Linked DNA regions of Homo sapiens: regions 1, 2, 3 and 4 are each linked to region 5. Evidence: promoter capture Hi-C in 16 types of primary human blood cells and fetal thymus (Javierre and others, 2016). All regions are on one chromosome and are shown on one strand. Each heading gives the region's core, a stretch centred on a gene start or on the middle of the fragment in contact. The rest is flanking DNA. Distances are from core to core; before and after follow the strand shown. Region 1 has its middle 51 kb from the start of RAP1B. Region 2 has its middle 71 kb from the start of LINC02384. Region 3 has its middle 49 kb from the start of LINC02384. Region 4 has its middle 26 kb from the start of LINC02384. Region 5 holds the start of MDM1 (Mdm1 nuclear protein).

Region 1 (2,700 bases), core at 168-2,667, 230 kb before region 5:
GCCTCCCGAGTAGCTGGGACTACAGGCACGCGCCACTATGTCTAGCTAATTTTTTGAATGTTTTGTGGAGATGGGTTTTTGCCATGTTGCCCAGGCTTGTCTCCAACTCCTGAGCTCGAGCGATCCTCCTGCCTCAGCCTCCCAAAGTGCTGGGATTACTGGCATGAGCCACTGCACCCGGCCTTGTTTTGTTAATTGTATCTATTGCATCACATGAAGAGAAAATACTCACCAATTCTAGCCTGGGGCATTAGGCATTTATTGCTTTCAGTAGATGTTCTCAATTGTGCATAGATCATAGACCCGAACTGATGTTTTTAACCCCTCTGATGAGGCATCACAAGGACAAAAATTTAATTTTATCCAGGATGTATTTGTTAGTCTTTGGCCAAGCTCTTAGCCAGATCTTTTGTAGGATTCCGTTGAAAGTCCTAAAAGAAATAATTCATTTAGTATTTACACTCCATCACTTAAATGTTATGTATTTTAGGATTAAGCAACATCTGGAATTAACCTCTATTTATACAGTTAATTTTTTTTAAAGCCAACAGATGACTCCTTTTGGCACTCTTCTGATAAAATTCTGTCCAGGCCCACAGAGTGATAATCTTGAGACCGGCTGCTCACCTCTCCTAGCCTCCTCCAGTGCCACAGGCCTAGTTGACCTCTGCTGGGTTTCCTGGGGGTGGGCCTGGCCCCCTTCTGCTCACTTCTGGGCCATTTGCCTTGACTTGCTTGGCCCACTCCAGCTGCTTCCCATTCATTTCCTGGCTTCTGAGCTTGCAGAGGGCTTGGGAATTCTTCCCAACTCAGGCAGCCACCAGCATTCTTCCCAGCTGGCAGTTTTCCTGCTAAATGGGAGCCTTCCTCTTGCAGTGTCCTCCACCTGTCTGCAGCTATATCGCCTCTAGACTTGTCCATGGCCCTGGAGCTCAGTGCTCATGTGACACAGCCTGAGCTGAATTCCTGCTCAAGGCTGCAGGGGAGGCCACCAGCTCCACACTTTATTCAGGGCAATGGAAATCCCCTCTTCCCTCGCTATGGTTCCCACCCCCAGTCAGCAGGGGAGCATCCTCTGAGCAGATTGCCATACGTGCCTGTTTCTGCTTCCATTTCCCCAAATGAGAACACTACTGAAGGTCAGCAGAGCTTGGAAACAGCTCACCAGGGTTAAGTCATGGAAAACACCAGTGATCCAGACAGGAAATAGGGGCCACGAGTAGTTTCAGATAGTGACAAAAAACAGGAGTGGCTGAACATTCACACTGTGGATAAGTGGAGTTGGCCACCGCCTGATGCAATTTGTGTCTCCGAGGGTGGCTTCCATTGGCTTTACGCAGTGCCTGAAGTTCTAGTTCCTAGCCCAACTTCCTCTTTCCAGTAGAAGCAGGGTGTGGTGCAGCATTTTCCAGAGTGCTCCTTGCAGTACAAATCCCCTGAGGTGCTCCTTGAGAAAAGGTTTTCATACTTGAATAACACTGCACAATGCTGCACGCTATAGCTCCTTCAAGAAGATCACAGAGTGCATTCATATATTAAGACTATTCGCGCTTGGAAGCTGTGCTTTATCCAGAGGCTCTGAAAGTTATTGGACTACAGAATGCTTCCTTCAAATAACACTTAATCATAATCAGTAAAATTAATGCTCAATGGACATACTGTTCTTTTGTTTGTTTGTTTGTTTCTATTTGAGTTGGAGTCTTGCTCTGCCGTCCAGGCTGGAGTGCAGTGATGTGAGCATGGCACACTGCAGCCTCGAACTTATGGGCTCAAATGATCCTCCCATCTCAGCCTCCCATTACCATGCATGCTAATTTTTTCTATTTGCTATTTTTATTTTTTTGTAGAGTCAAAGCCTCACTATGTTGCCCAGGCTGGTCTTGAACTCCTGGGGTCAAGTGATCCTCCTGCCTCAGCCTACCAAAGTGCTGGGAATATAGTCATGAGTCATGGCACCCTGTTCAACATGCTATTTTTTAAGCCAAGAACACACCTACCTCAGGGCCTTTGTCCTTGCTGGTCCTTCTACTTGCTATGACCTGTCTATGGATATTCACATGACTCACTTCCTCAACTGCTCAAAAGAGGTTTTCTCTGAATGTCCTATCTAAATGACTCTCCCCATTCACTTCAATACAGTCACTTTCTCTTTATCCCCTTATCCGGCTTTGTTATTTTCTATAGCAGTTATAACTCCCTGGCATTATAAATCATTGATTTATTATGTAATAATTAATTTATTTTTGATAAATGTATTGTAGTTAAAATGAAAGCTCCCTGACGGCAGAGGCATTGGTGCCCCCTGTTGTATCCTCAGCTCTAGAACTCTGCCTCTTTCTCTCTCAGTATGACCTTGAGCAAATCCCTTCATCACTTGGACCCTCAATTTCTTTAGGTAAGATGAAGAAAAACAATATCCATTCTGCTTCTCTCATGGGACCATGAGGAGGATCAGGTGAGAACTGGGCTGTGATAGTGCTTGTAAACTGTCAGGAGCTAAAAAATATAGGTTATTTTATATTATTATAAATAATATAGGTTATTATATATTATATAACATATATATAATATATTACCTATATAATATATTACCTATATATTACCTATATAATATAGGTTATTATATATTATTAAACATATATCTATGAACATAATAAATATATTATTAAAGACAAAATGCAAAACAGAAAAGGGAGGTAA
Region 2 (2,700 bases), core at 128-2,627, 190 kb before region 5:
ATGTATCAATAAAAAATATCCTACAACATTATGAGGTAGCTACTATTGTTATTTTCCTAGGTGAGGAAATGGAAGCACAGAGAGGGTAACTAATTCCTCCAAACTCACTTGTTGACTTAAGTGACAGAGATGGGATTTAAATCTAGATCGACTTGCTCCAACATTTTGTTCTCCTACCTACTCTCCTGTTTATATAAAGCATTTAAAAAATAGAGGCACCCAGGCTGGGTGCAGTGGCTCACGCCTGTAATCCCAGCACTTTGGGAGGGCGAGGTGGGTGAATCATGAGGTCAGAAGTTTGAGATCAGCATGGCCAACATGGGGAAATCCCGTCTCTACTAAAAATACAAAAATTAGCCAGGCATGGTGTGTGTCTGTAATCCCAGCTACTTGGGAGGCTGAGGCAGGAGAATTGCTTGAACCAGGGAGGCAGAGGCTGCAGTGAGCCAAGATTGCGCCACTGCACTCCAGCCTGGGCAACAGAGCAAGACTCCGTCTCGGGAAAAAAAAAAAAATAGAGTAACACAACTGAAAAATAGGCAAAAAGAGGAAAGTAGAAAATTCATAGAAGAAGAAATACAGTGGCCTAGAAATGTGTGAGAAGATGCTAAACTTCACTAGTTACCAAAGTAATGCAAATTAAAACAACATGAACTGTCACTGTTGCCCTCAGGTTGGTAGAAAAGTTTTAAAGAAATTCTAATAAATAGATACAATTTAAATAAAAATTATAAGAAGAAGCAGGGAATGTGTCTTCTACTTTGTTGGTAGGAAATAAATTGCTATGACAGTTTAGGTGGGCAATTTGGCAGTATTAATCAGAATTACAAATTCACGTGCTTTAGATGAGGAATATACTTTTTGGAATCTAGTTAACTATATCCTAGTGATATACACATAGATGTGGTACAGCTCTACAGTAAAAAAGCAACTTAAACATTAGAAATATGCACACAGATGTGGTACAGCTATACAAATATATAACGTTTAAAATTCAAATTAAACATTAGAAATAATGGGGGTAGATCTATATATTCTGCTGTAAAAGATGTCCAAAGCAGAGCAGTGATTATTGTGTCTGGGTTAAAAAATTTAGGTTAAGAAATACAGACATCTGTGTCAAGAGCAAAACCCTGTGTATACTCTTGGGTGCCACATGCTTTTCTTGGAGTCTCTGTGGTTGCCTTCTAGAATGCCCCTGACTGCAAGTCTCACCTCCAAGTCTTTGTCCCTACAGGTAAGGGATTATTATTGAGATTCTCTGAGGTCTCCTGTGCTTATGTTGCCTTTGGACATAGGGTCCTTTCTTCAACTCAGATTAGTCTGCTTCATGTCCCGCAGAGTGTCTGTCTTTGATGTTGCTACTATGTGCTTATCACTTTGCCCTAGTTTCCATTGCCAGTGTAGGTTTGTTCATCTATATGTATTTTTATTCCCTTGGTCATTTCAATGAGCTTATGGGAGGGGCAGCTGGAAATGCATGTTCAAGTCACCATATTACCTGGAATAATTTTAATACCTCATTTTAGATAATTTCTTTTGCATTTTCTCTAATTACTTAGGGACATTTTTAGGAGTTTTAATGCCAAATAAGTAAACATTTGGAAGGGTGCATATTTGGGAATTTTGCCAGAACCAATTTTAAAAGCAAAGTTTTGATAGAAATGATAGACTATGGTAAAAATTAATGAAAACTTGTTTAAGAAACAGTTTATTTTGCATAGTTAGAATGGACTTTATCTGTACACTTAAGACTGTGCAATGGTTTTAACTGAATATATGTCTTTTACTGTACCTGAGGGTATAGTCTGTACTAGAGGAATAAAAGGATCCGACTGCGGTGCCAGTGAATGAAATAGGCCTGTTCCTTACAGAGCTGTGATGTACAGTGATTATCATTCAACAATGCCCACAGGAAGTGAGGATATCGAAATGGTCCCTATGAAGACAAGGGACATTACTCACTAACGGGTAGCATATCTATCAGCCTTGAAAATAATTAGAGATACTAAAATCATAACTGCATAAGCATATGGAGAGCTGTGCAGTTTAAAACACAAGTGCATATTTGTATATTTCATCAGAGTTTATAATGGCTTTCACATGTTTTTTCCTCATAGAATCCTCACAACAACCCAGGCAAAGTGGACAGTGTAATTTTATCCCTGTTGTGCAGATGAAGACACTATCGGTCAAAATGATTAAATGATTTAAGTAAGGTCACACATTCAGTTAGTAGAAATTCTCATATATAACATCTTTTAGATCATATCAGTTTATTAAAAAATGATTCATTCAGTAGCTATAGGGGCAAATCAATACACTGTGATATTTTATACTCCTGTTAACAGTGTATGAGAGTCAGAATTTCTTAGCACACTAAAAGCAAGGCAGTTCTATGAAGGCCTCCTTCACAAGCGATTGCCACGTCATCTGTGCTAATTTCCTGAAAACTTTGTTAATGGTCATTCATTAACAATCATTCCCATTTTATCTGAGGCTTTTCATTTCTGGCTTATCTTCATTATAATTTACATGTTTCCTTTAAAAATGTTTTCTAAAGCACAGCAAACCAGTAAACGTGCTAATAAAAACTAAAGCCGAGATTTAATTTCTTAGATAAAATTGAAACAGGCTGACAAACTCAGACTTGTGGGAAGATTGGAGAGACGGTTGCCTGGGAAATATTTAATGAGTCAT
Region 3 (2,700 bases), core at 141-2,640, 170 kb before region 5:
GATGCTTCTCCGTCCTCTCTCTGCTACTTTCACCCTCCATGTTTCCGACTATCCCCATTTTCCCTAAATTCCTCTTATCATCTCTGTACATGTTTCCCTCCTCCTTTTCTACTCTAGAAATAGTACATATTATGAGAGAGCAAATACTTGACACCATCCCCAGAAAGTCAGTGGTGGGGATAATGCATTTTTAATCCCAAACACCTGGCCTCCTTTTATTTGCCCACCGGAATGAGGTTTCTTGATTATTCAAAAAAGTCCTCTTACGCTGGTGCTCACAAATGAGTAAAAAGGTTAATAAATTTCAGGTCTACTTAGTAATCCAGGGAGATAGAAGTCTGCAAACAGAGATTTTTCTTTTTAGGTTGAATCTGACATTATGAAAAGCTACCCATCTTTTCTCATACTCAAAGTATTTACCCAAGCTTTAAACACTGGGTAGCAAGAGTGTGGTGAAGGAGCTAACATTAATCGTGGGACCATTTTGCGGAATCTCATGCACATTATCTCATTTAATTTTCATGACAATCCCTTAAGGAAAGCAACATCGTTCCCATATGACATAAGTGAGGACAGGAGGGGGCTTTGACATATCCTATCACAGAGAGGCCCATGCCGATGCAGTTTCTTTAAGCCCTGCTGATCCCTTGTAAAATTTAGTCATCCTCTGCCGCCGACCTCCCTCATCCACACAGTGGTATCATGCTGCAATACTTTGATACAAGTGCCTCTTTGCCACTGTGCAATGCCAGTTATGGTGAGATATAGCTCCCATTTCCAGCCACCTTCTGTGGCCAGCCAATTCATGAGACCATGGACAAGTGCAGACTCCATCTTACTAGGAGAGGAGACAGTGGAACTGATAGCCCCTCCCTCAGCAGTACAAATACAACATCTGTCTCCTCAAAGCTATTTCCTCTGCTCTGGTTATGTAGAGGCAGGCATGCCAGTGCCTTTATGTTGACTGGGGCAGTGGAGGTGGTGGAGGATGATAGTGGGAGGTAAGGAGAGTTTTCTGAATTGATACCTCTCAGTAAACCCTGCATGGCCATGGAAGGGGTACCTGGTGGTTTTGGTCTTTGGTTACAATTCTGGGACAAGAGCATCACTTACACATGGATTATCAAATTTAGCTCTTATAACAACCGTATGAGGAAGGTTTGTTCATGTAATATAGTAGTTGCAAACATGGGCTTGGGCTTTAATTACAGGTCTTATATCATTCACGTCAAGTTCAAACATGACCACTGTTGTGCCTATTTCCTCTCTGTATCATGGGAAGAATGATAGTTCCTACCTTATGCTATTGTGAACAGTAAAAGAGATAACCTACATGGTAGTAAATGCTGTGTAAGTGTTTGCTATTGTTATTTTTATTTTCCAGATGAGGAAACTAACACCCAGATAGGTTCATAGCTGTTGAAGATCATATAGCTAATATGTGCCTCTAAAAGCCATGCTCTTAGCCATTCCTTCACGGTGGTGTTACTTAGCCTTTTCCACATTCTGGCACACATGGAAAAAATGTGTGGTTATAATAATGTTATTACTCATACACAGCATTGGGGACAATTAATAGGATAGCTCAAATCTTAAGGTAATTGGTCTGGGAGGCCCTGACTGTGCCAGGTCCCCTCTGATTAACTGACACTCTGGCTGTACTGGAGCAGGGAACAGAACCTGCTTCTCCAGGCCAATAGTTAGGTAAGTCTTCATGGAGAAAATGATGTCTTAGGTGTGGCTGAAAGATTAGTAAAATTTAGTAGCAAAAGCAAAGGATGAGAATGGGGAAGTGGGGAAGTCTGCTTAATTTTCTCCTGTAGAAAATGGAGATCATGGTAATACCTGTTTCACAGGTTAAAAATGAAATAAAGGAACATACATGGAAAAGGCTTTGTAAGATGTGATATCAATGTTAGCTGTTACTATTCTTGAGGTAAATGAATAAAATATTTAAAACCGTAAAAGTGAACAGGGCATAGTGGTCGCAGAGATAGAACACTGCTACCAAACATTCACTTGGGGAAAGTTTACAGCTTTAATAGGACTCGTATCCTTTCATTCATCCATTTATTCATTCATTCTTAACCAAATAAAAGTGAACATAAGCATTCTCCAACATTTGTTATGAGGCTCAGCCTATTTTCATCAATAACTGAAGCAAGTAGGAATAAGATCAAGAATCCTATAATCTCAAGCCAGGTGTGTCTCTGAAGTCCATAGTAGTTTGGCCATATCTGGGAAATGGCATACCAGGCTGTCTCTATGTGATAGTCCCAGGGCTTCTTGGGTGAGGACTTGTCCAGAGGGGCAAGGCAGCTAGGCAGAAGCAGCTGGATCCCAAAACAAAGCTTCGATCATTGGAGGGAAGGGGTTTGGGGCTGTCACTCAGGTTGTCTCTGGCTCAGGGAGGGACATCTGCATCCTGTAGAGGGAGCATGGGAAGGTTGTGAGTAAAACTTGCACTGACAGCGTTGTCCATCCCTGGGGTCCAAGGACATCTGCCTTGGACCTCCTGCCCTAAGCTAGAGTAAGCCAAGAAAAAAGAAGGGAAGCGAGAACTTCTTTCCAACTATGCAACACAATACCGAGACACCTTGCCACTCTGAGGGCTCCATGGCATCAGCTGTGGTAGGAGATGTCAGCACCTGCTGGAAATGGTGGCAACCAAAGGATGGAGGCCACAGAAGAAGAGAGAAT
Region 4 (2,700 bases), core at 21-2,520, 140 kb before region 5:
CTTGATCACAGCATTTTGATTTTCTAGAGTTTGATCATATTCTTCATCTTCTGTCACTCCAGCCTGAAATGTCCTGCTCTTTATTCTGGCAGTCCTCTCCATTTTCTGGATCTTTATACTTGCTTTTATTTGGATATTTCTTGAGATATAAGAGCTAACGCTACATGTAGTAGTCCAGGTGAGGCACTCCAGCGTTGGGTACCAGGGTAGGATAATGTTTCCAGATGTATTTTCAATACTCAACATGATGTACAGACATCATTTGTTCTTTTGGCTGAAGCAAGGCAATTCCAGCGGAATGTCCTCTGGCATAGCCAGCAACCATGTGGCCAGCCCATTGGGAACATAATGTTTTGAGGTCTCTAAAATCCATTCATTTATTTATTCAACGAATGCTTTAAAATACTTGTGCCAATCTCTATTCTAGTTGCTGTGGATAGGGTAAAATAAAACACGTCAAGTCCCTGTTTTCTTAGAGTGTATTGAGAAGTATGGAAAGACAGTTGATGAATACAAAAATGTATATGACAGGTGGCAAGGGATATGCAGAAAAATGAAACTGGAGAAAGGGAATAAAGGAGGAGTGGGCAGCGGACTTGCTTTTTTAAAATAAGATGGTTAGATATATTCCTGATAAGGTGACATTTGGGCAGAAATTTGAACGAAGCAGAGGTCATCTCACGGAAGAACAGCCCAGGCAGAGAACAGCAAGAGCAAAGGTCTTGGGGAAGCTACTTGCCATGTTTAAGGTTATGCCAGTGTACTTGGATCAAAGTGAGAGTGGAAGGGATTCGGGGAGATGAGGTAAGAGATAAGGCAAGAGCATCAGGATCAAAGAGAGACAGATGATGTATGGTCTTGTAAATTATGGCTAGGACTTTGGGTTTTATCCTGTGTGAAATAGGAAGCCATTATAGTATTATGAGCAAAGAACTGGCCTGATCCAACTGAATATTTTAAGAACTTACTCAGACTGCTTTGTGGTGAGAGGCATGGTGGAGGCAGGGAGGCCAGTTAGACAGCTGTTGTAATAATCCAGGTGAGAGATGATGGTGGCCTGGATCAGGACGATGATGGAGGTAAGGGCAAAATGTGGTTGGATCCTGGATATAGACTGGATAAGAGAGAAAGAGAAAAGCCAATGATAACTCCCAGTTTTCAGCCTGAGAAATTGGACACACTGGGTGAACAGAGTTACCTTTTATTCAGTTGAGGTATACTGTGGGAGGCACATGTTTTGTGTATATGCGTGTGTGTGTATGTTTGTATGTGGGGGTAGGGAATCAGGAGTTCTATTTTATATATTTTAAGTTTATGTCCAAGTAGGGATATCAAATAGGCAGCTAGATATGAGTATGAAGTGTTCAGGGTAGAGGTCAAGGTTGGAGTTCTACATTTGAGATCTTTCAAGTCTTGGGGTGAAATGAGATCACCTAGATAAATAGAGAAGTAGATAAAAAAGAGATCACATGACTGAATCTTGGAGCACTACAACCTACCATTTAGAACTTGAGGAAATAGATAGAACCAGTAAAGCAGTGTAGTTTCTTAGAAAGCTGTTTTGGTGGTTGTGTGGCAGCAGCTACCGTAAATACTGATGTATATATTGGAGAACTGCTTCCAAAGTGGAACAGGATCATTGTGAAAAAGCACAAATAAAGAAAGAGACTTTTTTCTTATCATTGAAAAATCTGGGCCAGGTGCAGTGGCTCAGGCCTATAATACCAGCACTTTGGGAGGCTGGAGCTAGAGGATCGCTTGAGCCCAGGAGTTCAAGACCAGTCTGGGCAACATAGTGAGACCTCGTCTCTATTATTAAAAGAAAAGAAAAGAAAAAAAAATCTGTAGAAGATAGGCCAGTTACTCCCACAAGAGAAAATTAGGTTGAATTAGTTCAGGTTAGGGAAATTTGCTTAACTGACTAGAAAGCAAAGGGATTATATATTCCTGGGAATATAAGCAAGGGATAGAGACAAAGTTCCACAACTCTTGATACCACAGATATGCAAGTTATAAGTACATGCATTTATAAATTCACAAATCAGACTTATATCAGGATATGCATATTAACAGAATCATCTACACAATGCATATAAATACAGTTTGGCCTTCAGAATACTTTTTTTTTTCCAGTGGCAATTGGTGTTAAGTTTCCTAAGTCACACAAAGAGAGATTATTTAACTCGGCAGGGTGCGGTGGCTCACACCTGTAATACCAGCACTTTGGGAGGTCAAGGTGGGTGGATCACTTGAGGCCAGAGTTCGAGACCAGCCTGACCAACATGGCAAAACTCCGCCTCTAAAAAATATACAACAACAACAAAAAATTAGCTGGGTGTGATGGTGTACATCCATAGTCCCAGCTACTTGGGAGGCTGAAGCATGAGAATCACTTGAACCTGGGAGGCAGAGGTTGCAGGTTGCAGTGAGTGCAGATAGTGTCACTGCAGTATACCCTGGGTGACAGACAGAGACTCTGTCTCAAAAAAAAAAAAAAAAAAAGAAAAGAAAGATTATTTAACTCATGATGTAACTCAAGTGTGGGCCTAATTTTTCAATTTCTTATTTTTTAAAAATGCATCACAAGCTGTTTTATTTCAGCGTATGGGAGTGTTTGACAGAGCAACATTTTTGTAAGCAAACCTTGAGAATATATTGCATGAGTGTCCAATCTTTTGGCTTCCCGGGGCCACATTGGAA
Region 5 (2,700 bases), core at 118-2,617:
TTAATCAAGGGCCCCCTGGATGCATGGCTGCATTGGGACTAATTTAATATGCTCTTTGTTCCAGATATCAGGTGGCTTCTTCAAATGATTTTTAAGTATCTCGATGATGATGAAGAACAAAGACATCAATCAGGATTCAGGAAGACAGCTTTTGCGGAAAATGCTTAAAGGGAAGCATCAAGGATTGGTGTTGATATTTGAAAGTTTAAGAGTGGTATACTTTTATTCAGTCAACACATGACAAATGTAAAAGGCACTCATTTGTTGTTCCTGGAAGAAGCCTGGCAGCATTCCATTCAGACATCTGCCCTTTCATCGTCCCACTTTTTACTTATTGCAGTCCTTTCAGTCTGAATATTTCCTCCTGACGCATCTTCTGCCGTCCGAAATGACTCCCTGCTCCCAGATCCTGTAGCCCTTATTATTGACACCTTTCATTTAGAAATTTAGCACATGTCACATTACACCATTATTGAATAAATAATGAATAAATAAATAAATAAAGATGTATGTCCTTCCCAAGTATATCAGAGAACTATCTGGACAATTTCTTTCTTTCCCAATTCTCAGAATCAGCAGTATTCTGTCAAGAAACATTTATCGACGATGATGGCAATAGTCGATTAAAATCAGATGAAGTTTTATTTTTAAAAAAAGGTTGAGCGGAGAGACAAGGCTGAAGGTTTGGAAGTTGAGACAACCATCTTCAATAAACGTTTTCTCATCTAAGGGCTGTATGTACATCATTTTGGGGAAGGTAGAGATTGAAGGAGGAAGAACATCACTGGAGGAAGAGACAGCAGTTTGTCTTTCGAGTTTCAATAAAGTTTCAAAAATCTTGCCTAAGTTATATATTTTTTTGGCCTTTCCCTTTTGATGTGACAATAAACTGTAATGCGGCTGTCGTTTGTACGAACCGATATTCAGCAGAATAAATCTGAGCACTTTCAGAAAAAGAAGCGTTCGGTTTTCTCATAGATGTTAGCATGAAGAACACACTTTGACCTTTGATGCTGTCAAGCACCTGGGCCAGCGAGGCTGGCGGCTGGCGAATTCCACCAGCAAGCAGACGCATTGCTGCGCAGGACCCGGCGAACCAGGGACCGGTCCACCCAACCCAGGAAGGCACCCCCGGGGTCCCGCCCAGCCCGGTTCCGGGAGCCTTATTGGCCGGCCTTCCGCCCGCCATCTCTATCAGCCCCAGGGATTTGGCAAGGGAGGTAGGCGGCTCCCTTTCGGCCACTCATTGGTCAAATCCTAATGGAGGTAAGGCACTCTGCGAGTCTCTATTGGTCCCTAGGCTCCAAAAAGGGCGGGGAAAAACAGACCGACAGGCCTCTAGGCGGGAAGCGCGGAGTGCGCCGGCGCGTAGTCGGGGACGCCGGGCCGAGGCTTTGCTAGGGAACACTGTTATCGCCCCGCCCCCTCGGAGCTTTTTCTCCAGTTAACTGTCGGAGTAGCGGGGGCTCCGGCGCCGGGCGACATGCCGGTGCGCTTCAAGGTGAGGCTGGGGTCCCCGGGCCGGAATGTGGCTGGGGGGAGCCATGGCCGGGGAGGTGTGGAGCGCCGAGGTCACGCTGCTTTTCTGCGCTGCAGCCCTCTGCCCGGCGGAAGCTGCCAGCCCCAGGGCCTGCTCGAGGGGCCCCAGAATCTGCCCGCCGCCTCTTAACCTAGTTCCCTCTCCGCTCACTCACATTTGCAAGCTGCAGTGTGTCGAAGAGTCAGATGGTGCGAGACACATTTACTTAGGGGGACTCAAGAGGAGTGGAGATGGGAGGAGGTCCCTTTGCGAAGAGAACTAAAGGCGACTTCAGATTGGGACACCTGTGGCCCATTTAGCTTAGCATTTAACCCCCATTACCTTTAAAACTTTAGTGTATGTGGCTTTTAAAGGCTTGAGAAATGGGTTCTTAGTAAAGACAGCGTATAAAGAAATACACGTTTTTCATCGTTGTGCATTCTTAGCGTATGTTAAAAGTTCCAGGTAGCTGGTAGCTGTCAGGGACTAGCACCCTGCAACTTCACAGGTGGCCACAGCGTCCCACATCTCCTGACTCATTTATCTTAAAGGCGTGTATTCAGAATGGAAGGGGAGTTTGCCTTTTGTTGACTTTATCAAATAGCAAAAGGTCCTAGGCATGGTACATAATATTGTGTACTCGGTGAAAACCTGCGATAAATCTAGAATGATGAGAATTTAGATTGTCATTAGTTATCCGACAAGAACTCATGCTTTGGAATCAGATAATCAGTGAAAGGGTAACCTCTGAGCCTGGAATTCCTGGTAGCATCTGCCTCAAGTGGTGTTGTGGATTAAAGGATATAACACGTGTGAACTGCTTAGCACAGGGCTGGGTGAATATTAGCTCTTATTAAGGAGCTCGTCTGTGTTTAATTTTCAGTCTTAAGTCTCTTTTGGGAGGTTCAGAAATTATTTTTCACCGATGTCTGCTTTAAAACATCATTCATTAATTGGACTGTACTCAAAAGTGTACTTTGCATTACAGGGGCTGAGTGAATACCAGAGGAACTTCCTGTGGAAAAAGTCTTATTTGTCCGAGTCTTGTAATTCCTCCGTGGGGCGAAAGTACCCATGGGCTGGACTTAGATCAGATCAATTAGGTAAGTTGAGCAGGCTAATAGCCATTCTAACCTGGGCTAAGTTTATAACTTGGGCCAAGCCGTTATAACTTGGGCTAA

The links. Contacts are between HindIII fragments. The CHiCAGO score rates a contact against its expected background, and 5 or more counts as called.
Region 1: a fragment that was not itself captured here is called in contact with the fragment with the promoter of MDM1 in region 5 in 5 of 17 cell types (megakaryocytes, monocytes, M2 macrophages and 2 more); the score reaches 11.1 in megakaryocytes.
Region 2: a fragment that was not itself captured here is called in contact with the fragment with the promoter of MDM1 in region 5 in 1 of 17 cell types (megakaryocytes); the score reaches 7.0 in megakaryocytes.
Region 3: a fragment that was not itself captured here is called in contact with the fragment with the promoter of MDM1 in region 5 in 2 of 17 cell types (megakaryocytes and monocytes); the score reaches 11.9 in megakaryocytes.
Region 4: a contact is called between a fragment that was not itself captured here and the fragment with the promoter of MDM1 in region 5, in 1 of 17 cell types (megakaryocytes). The highest score is 5.8, in megakaryocytes.

The regions. Positions count from the first base shown.
Region 1 is chr12:68,558,759-68,561,458 of GRCh38, reverse strand. No RefSeq gene overlaps it. Among named protein-coding and RNA genes, the nearest start is that of RAP1B, 51 kb to the left of the region's middle. The HindIII fragment of the contact is 6,611 bases long and covers 1-2,700 here.
Region 2 is chr12:68,521,468-68,524,167 of GRCh38, reverse strand. No RefSeq gene overlaps it. Among named protein-coding and RNA genes, the nearest start is that of LINC02384, 71 kb to the right of the region's middle. The HindIII fragment of the contact is 4,435 bases long and covers 1-2,700 here.
Region 3 is chr12:68,498,635-68,501,334 of GRCh38, reverse strand. No RefSeq gene overlaps it. Among named protein-coding and RNA genes, the nearest start is that of LINC02384, 49 kb to the right of the region's middle. The HindIII fragment of the contact is 1,926 bases long and covers 428-2,353 here.
Region 4 is chr12:68,475,737-68,478,436 of GRCh38, reverse strand. No RefSeq gene overlaps it. Among named protein-coding and RNA genes, the nearest start is that of LINC02384, 26 kb to the right of the region's middle. The HindIII fragment of the contact is 3,217 bases long and covers 1-2,700 here.
Region 5 is chr12:68,331,029-68,333,728 of GRCh38, reverse strand. MDM1 (Mdm1 nuclear protein) reads left to right here and starts at 1,367. Exons shown (of 15, transcript NM_001354969.2): 1 at 1,367-1,501; 2 at 2,508-2,622. The coding sequence starts at 1,484. LOC105369819 (a long non-coding RNA gene) reads right to left here and starts at 1,098. Exons shown (of 3, transcript XR_945057.3): 1 at 1-1,098. RefSeq lists a silencer at 1,167-1,426 and an enhancer at 1,727-1,816. The HindIII fragment of the contact is 10,890 bases long and covers 1-2,700 here.